Regions from separate parts of the Homo sapiens genome. Here all the other regions are linked to region 2. The links are contacts of gene promoters, found by promoter capture Hi-C in human tissues and cell types (Jung and others, 2019). All regions are on one chromosome and are shown on one strand. The core of a region is centred on a gene start or on the middle of the fragment in contact, and the rest is flanking DNA. Distances in the headings are between cores, read along the strand shown.

Region 1 (3,425 bases), core at 876-3,375, 490 kb before region 2:
GCAGGCCAAGCTGTGTTGCTCACCTCTAGATATTCAGCCTAGGGTGTCAACCTTTCCTTCTCCACACAGAGCCTTGTCCCACTCCACCCCTAAAATTCCCCTTTTCTCCAAGCAAAAGGGAAAACAAGAAAAGAAAAACCAACCTATGGTCCTGGAACACCCGTGCCTTGTTTCTTAGGGAGAAGAGGTGACAGGGTGTGATGCCTTGTTGGAAGCTATACTGTATTCTGAGCTGCAAATTAAGTGTAGGGTCCAATGAAGTCCCGAAGAAATCTCTGACAGAAGTACTCCCAGAATGTGGGATGCACAGTCCCAGCGCCCCCATGTCTCCCTGAGTGAGCCAGCCTTCCAGCCCCTTTCTTTTCTGTCCCTACAGGCTCTACAGTTCCCTCCTTCAGGGCAGGGGCACTTTTTTTTTTCAGAGAGTGCACTGGTTTGTTTTGCCACAATTTACCAACATTCAGGTGTCAGAGAAACGGGAAGTAATGTTTGAAGGAGCAGCTCTGTGCTAGGAGCCAGGTACTGTGCTTGGCGCGCAATCTGTATGACCTCATTCCATCCTCACAGCAAAACTGTCACTGTGAGCAGTCCAGGCTGGAGGCCTGGAGCTAGGTGTCCAAAGATGGTCAGACTTATGTCTGAATTCTGACTCTATCTGCCACCTACTAGTTGGGTGAACCTGAGCATATCACCTAACTTTTCTGAGCTGCAGTTTGTTTATCTCTAAAATAGGATTATGATAATCTACTCCATGCCTTATTTTGAGGATCAAAATGATCATGTATGAAGTGTAAGTATGCATAATATGTATAATATAGGAGGGAAAACCACTTGGCATAGTGTCCAGCACATAGTGAGTGCCCAGTAAATAATGGCTTGAAAAATAGATTGGCATTATGCCAGTTTTATAGGTGAGAAATCTGGGACCCAGCAGTTAATTTGCTTAATGTTGCCCAGCTAATAGATGGCAGCCCTTGGAGCTTGATATATATCAGACTCCCAAGTTAATATGCTTTAACAAATGCAATTTTGGGGGTCCTGTTTATAAAACATGCTCATTGTAGAATAAGAAAATACAGCATATCAAGAATAAAAATTAAAACCACCCCTAGTCTCACTGTATAACAGTTTAGTATATTTTTATATAGTCTTCTATGTACTTTTAACATAATTAAAAACAGTGCATATACAATTTTGTATCCTACTTATTCACTTAGTTTTCATTGTAAGCATTTTTTTTTATTATACTTTAAGTTCTGGGGTACATGTGCAGAAGGTGCAGGTTTGTTACATAGGTATACACGTGCCATGGTGGTTTGCTGCACCCATCAACCCATCACCTACATTAGGTATTTCTCCTAATGCTGTCCGTCCCATAGCCCCCCACCCCCCTACAGGCCACAGTGTGTGATATTACCCTTCCTGTGTCCATGTGTTCTCCTTGTTCAACTCCCACTTATGAGTGAGAACATGCAGTGTTTGTGTGTCCGGCGTTGGTGGGTTCTTGGTCTCACTGACTTCAAGAATGAAGCCGCGGACCCTCGTGGTGAGTGTTACAGCTCTTAAGGTGGCGCGTCTGAAGTTTGTTCCTTCTGATGTTCAGATGTGCTCTGAGTTTCTTCCTTCTGGTGGGTTCGTGGTCTCGCTGGCTCAGGAGTGAAGCTGCAGACCTTCGCGGTGAGTGTTACAGCTCTTAAGGTAGCGCGTCTGGAGTTGTTCGTTCCTCCTGGTGGGCTCGTTGTCTCGCTGGGTTCAGGAGTGAAGCTGCAGATCTTCACGGTGAGTGTTACAGCTCATAAAAGGAGCGTGGACCCAAAGCGTGAGCAGTAGCAAGATTTATTGCAAAGAGTGAAAGAACAAAGCTTCCACAGTGTGGAAGGGGACCCGAGCGGGTTGCCAATGCTGGCTCGGGCAGCCTGCTTTTATTCTCTTATCTGGCCCCACCCACATCCTGCTGATTGGTAGAGCTGAGTGGCCTGTTTTGTCAGGGTGCTGATTGGTGCGTTTACAATCCCTGAGCTAGATATAAAGACTCCACGTCCCCATCAGATTAGTTAGATACAGAGTTTCAACACACAGGTTCTCCAAGGCCCCACCAGAGCAGCTAGATACAGAGTGTCGATTGGTGCACTCACAAACCTTCAGCTAAACACAGGGTGCTGATTGGTGTGTTTACAAACCTTGAGATAGATACAGAGTGCCGATTGGTGTATTTACAATCCTTGAGCTAGACATAAAGGTTCTCCATGTCCTCACCAGAGCAGCTAGATACAGAGTGTCGATTGGTGCACTCACAAACCTTGAGCTAAACACAGAGTGCTGATTGGTGTATTTACAATCCCTGAGCTAGATATAAAGACTCTCCACGTCCCCACCAGACTCAGGAGCCCAGCTGGCTTCACCTAGTGGATCCTGCACCGGGGCTGCAGGTGGAGCTGCCTGCCAGTCCTGCACCGTGTGCTCGCATTCCTCAGCCCTTGGGTGGTCGATGGGACTGGGCGCAGTGGAGCAGGGGGTGGTGCTCGTCGGGGAGGCTCGGGCCGCACAGGAAACCATGGAGTGGGTGGGAGGCTCAGGCATGGCGGGCTGCAGGTCCCGAGTCCTGCCCCATGGGAAGGCAGCTAAGGCCCTGGCAAGAAATCGAGCGCAGCGCCGGTGGGCCAGCACTGCTGGGGGACTCAGTACACCCTCCGCAGCCACTGGCCCGGGTGCTAAGTCCCCCATTGCCCGGGGCCAGCAGGGCTGGCTGGTTGCTCCGAGTGCGGGGCCCGCCAAGCCCACGCCCACCCGGAACTCCAGCTGGCCCACAAGCGCCGCATGCAGCCCCGGTTCCCACTGGTGCCTCTCCCTCCACACCTCCCTGCAAGCTGAGGGAGTGGGCTCCGGCCTTGGCCAGCCCAGAAAGGGGCTCCCACAGTGCAGTGGGGGGCTGAAGGGCTCCTCAAATGCCACCAAAGTGGGAGCCCAGGCAGGGGAGGTGCCGAGAGCAAGCGAGGGCTCTGAGGACTGCCAGCATGCTGTCACCTCTCATTTGGTTTTCTGTTCTTGTGATAGTTTGCTGAGAATGATGGTTTCCAGCTTCATCTATGTCCCTGCAAAGGACATGAACTCATCCTTTTTTTATGGCTGCATAGTATTCCATGGTGTATATGTACCACATTTTCTTTATCCATTCTATCATTCATGGACATTCAGGTTGGTTCCAAGTCTTTGCTATTGTGAATAGTGCCGCAATAAACATATGTGTGCATGTGTCTTTATAGTAGAATGATTTATAATCCTTTGGGTATATACCCAGTAATGGGATTGCTAGGTCAAATGGTATTTCTGGTTCTAGATCCTTGAGGAATCGCCACACTGTCTTCCACGATGTTTGAACTAATTTACACTCCCACCAACAGTGTAAAAGTGTTCCTATTTCTCCA
Region 2 (3,032 bases), core at 320-2,819:
CAAAGTCTGTCCAGCTTTTGGGGGTGTAATGGGATTGGAAGCCCCAGTGTACCAGAGGGACACGGGAGCAGTGTGTGTGTGTGTGTGTGTGTGCATGCATGCACACTAATGGGGGAATTACATGATGTTGTGTCGTCCTGGGGGCACCCTCACTAGTCAGAAGTCTCAATAGCAGAGTGGCTTGCAGGTGAACAGAAGTCTCTGTGGCATGAGGTCAGCAACTAAAGTAGCTGTCTCCCATGGTGTTCTAGCAAATACTATCTTGGCATTCAAGATCCCACTCAAAAGCCCCTTCCTCTGTGAAGTCCTTCCTGATGCCTTCCCCACTCATCCATATTGCACCCTGCTTTAATGTGCTCCCACTGCATCCTGAGCAGGTCCATAACATTGCACCTGTCACGCTTCATTGCGTATGCGTATTGGCTTATCCTCTCTCTGTCTGCCTGTCTTTCTGTTCCATATACATCTGCCTCCCCCAGGGGCAGAGGCTGTGTCTTAATCACCTGTGTAGCCCCAGCACCTGGCACAGTGCCTGACACCCAGGAGATGCTCAATAAATGGCTGCTATATTAATACATGAGCAGCTTAAGGGGATGGAGGGCGAAGGTAAATGCTCTTGCGTACTCATCGCAGACCACAATGTGCCCAAATGTCTTCATGTGTGGTTTGCAGCTCCCCAGGCAACTGCTTACTTCCCTTACTTACTGATTTCACCAGGAATTACTTGTTTTGTTTCCTTAAGATCTGTGCATGGCACAGCCCCTCCCACAAGGGTAAGGCCATATGGGTTGAATCTTGGGGGGTGTTGGGTACATTGTGGCACCGGGAAGAAGCCTTGGGAGTCAGTCCTTCAGCAGATGCCCTCATGTGACCAGGATATGAGGTTGGGTGTCCTTAAGCAATTATGTCCATTTCCTGTGTCTCCTTATAAAATGGTGGCTAGGGAACTGGACATCATTCTCAAAGCTATGACGTTCAGCAAGGTATGTGATGGCTTTTAAGGAGCACGGGAAGATCACATCCTGCTGTATTCCGGGTTAGTTTGAGTGAGTACATGTGTGACAAGGACAGCCCAGTGTTCCTGTATATGTGACTGCAGATATCCTTAGCTAGTGTAACAATGTTGAAAGTGATGTGAGAAGGGGTATGTTTCCCAATGTGTATCCGCCGGGGGCTGTAACTGTCGTGGTGTCACAGTGAGTTTATGTACTGGCGCCTGTGTGTGTCAAGATATGTGTGAGCCTGTGAGTCGTGGGTGCATGTGTCGCCATCATTTCTCTGTTTGAATGTGTATGTGCATGCCACTGCAATGTGCGCATCTCTGCGATTCTGGGTGTGGGTGTAGTGTGAAGGGGAAGATGTGTGTCACTGTGTCTGTGGGGGTCCTGCCTCTAAGCCACCCCCAGCCTGCCCTCCTCCCCCGGTTCTGTGGCTCCCTCCCAGGCTGTGGCCCTGCCCCTTCCCTCTTCTCCCTCCCAATCCATCCACGCGGGGGGAGCTGGTGCTGCGCCCCCCCCCACCCCTCCCCATCCAGGCCCCATAAATAGCAGCAGAGCCGGAGCTGGAGCCGGCGCCAGCGGCTGGAGCAGCAAGGGAGTCAGGGCCAGGGCCAGAGAGCCGGAGAGAGGAGCCCCCGACCGAGAGCCCAGGTGAGCCCACCCTTCCTCCCCAGCCCAGCCCCAGCCCAGCCCAGCTTGGCCCAGTCTCCATAACAACATCTCCTGGAGCCCGCAGAGAGATCCCAGCCCTGCCCAATCCCTTCACCACCACAAGCCCCTGCCTATCTCGGGGACCCCCAAGAACTGGGAGACTTGTGGCTGGAAGGCAGAGACCCCCCTCCCCCAGCCCAGACCCTCCCTCACATATCCAGAAAGGCACACACTGTGGGGAGGTAGATACCCAGCCAGAGAAAGGTCCCACTTCTGAGGGAGGTACAGGAACTGTCACACCCTCCTGGAAACGGACACACGACATGGGGGGACAGACACGGAGGGTGGGGCACTCAGACACACCAATGCACACTCACTCGGGGAAGCATGACATGGGATCAGACAGCCTCACCCTGAGATCTGTACAGACACAGATAGATGGACTGACCGGCCATGAACTCTGGCCGGCATACCCCTGCCTGCTTCAGCCCGAGGCTTGGTACCACTGCTGGGGGAAGGTGGCATGCGTGCATCCCACGGGCAGCATGGAGGGAGCCACGACTCCCCAAAAATCCTGTCGCTAAGAGACGGTGCCAGTGCTGCCAAGAAGTGTGAAAACAGGGGAGGTGGGGAGGGATGTGAGGCTTGTCACAGTTAGAGCTCCTGCCAGGAGCCTGAAGGAGCTTTCAGCAGAGCCCTGGTCCTGCCTCCCAGCCCACCACCACTCCTTTTCCATCAGCTAGCCAGAAGGGGAATGGGGGTAGGGAGTGGATAGGGATAGCCCAGCAGGGGACTTTCCAACCTGTCTCCTGCCCACTGCAGACTCCACTTCTGAGACCCATCCTCTTCAGAACTCCAGAGGCCTCTCCACCCCCTGCCCCACCCCCTTGCCCTAGTTTAGCTCCCTCGTGCCAAGACTGAGTGCAGCGCTGGCACAACACCAGTCGGGAAATAGCAGAAGGTGCTGAGGCGGCAGAAAGTGTAGATCAATCGATGGCCTAGGAGCCAAGACTGCCAGGAACATCCCCACCCCAATCCTTCAGCCCTCTCCAGCCCCATCCACGCATACCTAGGCCAGCAGCACAGGGCTTCTGAGCAGGAGTGGGAGGCTCAGGTCCTCTGCCCTCCCCTGCTCAGAACTCTGGTGAAGCTGAGGAAGCAGGAGGTCCGTGAGGCCCCAGGGTCTAGGGAAGGAGGTTAAGGGGTGGGGCCCAGGGACCCTAGAGGATAGACCCCTCTGCTGGCAGGTGTTCCCTTTCCAGAGTCCAGGCCACCTGCTCTGTCCCCACAGTGACATGTCGGACCCTGAGATGGGATGGGTGCCTGAGCCCCCAACCATGACGCTGGGGGCCTCTCGGGTGGAGCTGCGGGTGTCCTGCCATG
Region 3 (3,403 bases), core at 633-3,132, 440 kb before region 2:
TTGCCTTCTTAAGCAATATAGAATTGTTTTACCTGTTGTTGAAACTTGTGGACTCAAATAATATGTATTCTTTTGTGTCTGACTTCTTTTACTCAACAGTATATTTTTTAAGATTCCTTTATGTTGTTCAGTGTGGCTTCAGCTCATTCATTTTCATTATTGTATAGTATTCCATTATAGAAATGCAACACAGTTTGTTTATCCATTCCACCGTTAATAGGCATATAGACTTTGATATGGTTTAGGTCTGTGTCCCTGCCCAAATCTCATGTCGAATTGTAATCCCCAATGTTGGAGGAGGGGGCCTAGTGGAAGGTGATTGGATCATGGGGGCAGATTTCCCCCTTGCTGCTCTTGTGATAGTGAGTGAGTTCTCATGAGATCTGGTTGTTTGGAAGTGTGTAGCACCTCCCCCTTTGCTCTCACTTCCTCCTGCTCCAGCTGTGTAAGTTCTGCCTGCTTCATTTCACCTTCTGCCTTAATTGTAAGTTTCCTGAGGCCTTCCCAGCCATGCTTCCTGTACAGCCTGTGGAATTGTGAGTCAATTAAACCTCTTTTCTTTATAAATTACCCAGTCTCAGGTAGTTCTTTTTTTTTTTGAGACAGGGTCTTGCTCTCTCTCCCAGGCTGGAGTACGGTGGTGCAATCTCAGCCTACCACAGCCTTGACCTCCTGGGCTCAAGCAATCGTCCCATCTTAGTCTCCCGAGTAGCTGTGACTACAGGCATGCACCACCACACCCAGCTAATTTTTATAGAGACATGGTTTCACCTTGTTGCCCAGGCTGGTCTCAAACTCCTGAGCTCAAGGGATCTGCCCACCTTGGCCTTCCAAAGTACTGGGATTACAGGTGTGAGCTACCGTGCCTGGCCTCAGTTAGTTCTTTATAGCAGTGTGAAAACAAACTAATACAGACTTGTTTCCAGTTTGGAACATTCTAAGCAGGCTTCTCTGAACCTGTGTGTACAGTCTCTTGGTGCACACATGACCTCCTGTCTGCAGGATGCAAGTTCCCTCTACAGAGTCAGAGATCTTTATTTTCAACTTCTCCGTATAATGCCAAATCATTTCCCAAAGTGATTGTACTTACCCTCTACCCAGCAGTGAATGAGAGTTTCTGTTGATTTTGCTTTTTCAACTAGAAGTGAGAGGTGACAATATGCTAGCAGCCCTTGCTCACTCTTGGTGCCTCCTCGTCCTCCACATCCACTCTGGCTGCACTTGAGGAGCCCTTCAGCCCACCACTGCACTGTGGGGGCCCCTCTCTGGGGCTGGCCAAGGCCGAAGCCAGCTCCCTCTGCTCGCCAGGAGGTGTGGAGGGAGAGGCGCCGGCAGGAGCCCACACTGTACAGGGCACTCACCGGCCAGCAGGGGCTCCGTGGGCCGGCCGGTGCCAGCTGGGCCTGACTGGGGGATGAGCTCCCTCTGGGCTGCTGGAGTGCCTGGGCTAGGTGCCGCAAAGTCCTGCAGTGTGTGCCATTGAGAGGTGAAGCCGGCTGGGCTTCTGGGTCCGGTGGGGACCTGGAGAACTTTTCTGTCTAGCTAAAGGTTTGTAAATGCACCCATCAGCACTCTGTGTCTAGCTAAAGGTTTGTAAATGCACCAATCAGCAATCTGTGTCTAGCCAATCTGGTGGGGACTTGGAGAACTTTTGTGTCTAGCTAAAGGATTGTAAATGCACCAATCAGCACTCTGTGTCTAGCTAAAGGTTTGTAAATGCACCAATCAGCACTCTGTCAAAACGGACCAATCAGCTCTCTGTAAAACAGACCAATCAGCTCTCTGTAAAATGGACCAATCAGCTCTCCATAAAATGGACCAATCAGCAGGATGTGGGTGTGGCCAGTTAAGGGAATAAAAGCAGGCTGCCTGAGCCGGCAGCAGCAACCTGCTCTGGTTCCCTTCCACGCTGTGGAAGCTTTGTTCTTTTGGTCTTCATGATAAATCTTGCTGCTGCTCACTCGTTGGGTCCGTGCCACCTTTAAGAGCTGTAACACTCACCGCGAAGGTCTGCAACTTCACTCCTGGGGCCAGCAAGACCACGAATGCACCGAGAGGAATGAACAACTCTGGACACACCATCTTTAAGAACCGTAATACTCACCGCAAGGGTCTGCAACTTCATTCTTGAAGTCAGTGAGGCCAAGAACCCATCAATTCCGTACACATTTTGGTGACTTTGAAGAGACTGTCACCTATCACCAAGTGGTGAGACTATTGCCAAGCAGTGAGACTATTGCCAAGTGGTGAGACCATCACCAAGCGGTGAGACTATCACCTATCGCCAAGTGGTGAGTACCATCAGATCCCTTTCATTTGCTATTCTGTCCTATTTTTCCTTAGAATTCGGTGGCTAAATTCTGGGCACCTGTCGGCCAGTTAAAAGTGACTAGCGCAGCCGCTGGACTAAAAACGTGGGTGTCAGGCTTTCTGGGAAAGGGATCTCTAACAACCCCTGGCTCTGTGGAGTTGGGAATGTTGTTTTGCCTGGAACCAGCTTCCGCTTTTCCTGTACTTCTGGGCTGAGCTGAGGGTCAACAGAGAGGAAAGCCATTCAGCTCCGGAGTCCCCACAACAAGTTGGTTGACCCTGCGGCCATGAGCGGAACTCTCAAAGGCATGTTGCCCAAGTGAGACTCACCTATCTATCCTATCTATCCTGACCCTTGCTCGCTGGGTCCTAATGCCTGCCAGACAAACTTTCTCTCTCCTCTCTTCTCCTAGGCTAGTCCCACTTCTAAAAAACCACTCCCTGTCTCTGGTGCTTTTCTAATTTCTCTTATAAGAATGATTTCTAGTAAAAATTTCAGGACTCTGTTACCTTCTTTAGGCACCTGGGCTCACCAATCAGAAAGACATAATTTTTGCCCAAAGCCCAGTTGTAGGGGGAACTATCTGGAATTTTAGAATCCCTCCTCAGATAAGCAGGTCTAACAAAAGCTATTCCTGAAGCTAGGATAGGGGGAGCCTCAGAAATTGTATCCTTCCTATTCATATAAGTGAGGACAAAAGGTGTCACTTTTCCAACCCTGGAGACCCCTTCCCTCCCTCAGGTTACTCTTCTTCATTTTTGGGGCATAACATCTTTATAGGACACGGGTAAGTTCCCAATACTAACAGGAGAATGCTTAGGACTCTAACAGGTTTTCGAGAATGCGTCGGTAAGGGCCACTAAATCCGATTTTTCTCGGTCCTCCTCATGGTCTAGGAGGACAAGCAAGGGTGCAGCACTCTATGTCTAGCTAATCAGGTGGGGACTTGGAGAACTTTTGTGTCTAGCGAAAGGATTGTAAATGCACCAATCAGCACTCTGTGTCTAGCTAAAGGTTTGTAAACACAGCAATCAGCACTCTGTCAAAATGGACCAATCAGCTCTCTATAAAACAGACCAATCAGCTCTCTGT

What was found. Contacts are between HindIII fragments. The study calls those that stand out against the background at their distance.
Region 1: a fragment that was not itself captured here is called in contact with the fragment with the promoter of CPNE6 in region 2 in 2 of the 25 tissues and cell types used here (H1 embryonic stem cells and dorsolateral prefrontal cortex).
Region 3: a contact is called between the fragment with the promoter of DHRS2 here and the fragment with the promoter of CPNE6 in region 2, in 1 of the 25 tissues and cell types used here (dorsolateral prefrontal cortex).

What each region holds. Positions count from the first base shown.
Region 1 is chr14:23,582,418-23,585,842 of GRCh38, forward strand. No RefSeq gene overlaps it. Among named protein-coding and RNA genes, the nearest start is that of JPH4, 5.3 kb to the left of the region's middle. RefSeq lists an enhancer at 2,729-3,228. The HindIII fragment of the contact is 8,014 bases long and covers 1-3,425 here.
Region 2 is chr14:24,069,993-24,073,024 of GRCh38, forward strand. It overlaps CPNE6 (copine 6), which reads left to right and starts at 1,570. Exons shown (of 17, transcript NM_006032.4): 1 at 1,570-1,649; 2 at 2,941-3,032. The coding sequence starts at 2,945. The HindIII fragment of the contact is 9,770 bases long and covers 1-3,032 here.
Region 3 is chr14:23,634,482-23,637,884 of GRCh38, forward strand. DHRS2 (dehydrogenase/reductase 2) reads left to right here and starts at 1,883. Exons shown (of 9, transcript NM_005794.4): 1 at 1,883-2,291. The HindIII fragment of the contact is 10,677 bases long and covers 1-3,403 here.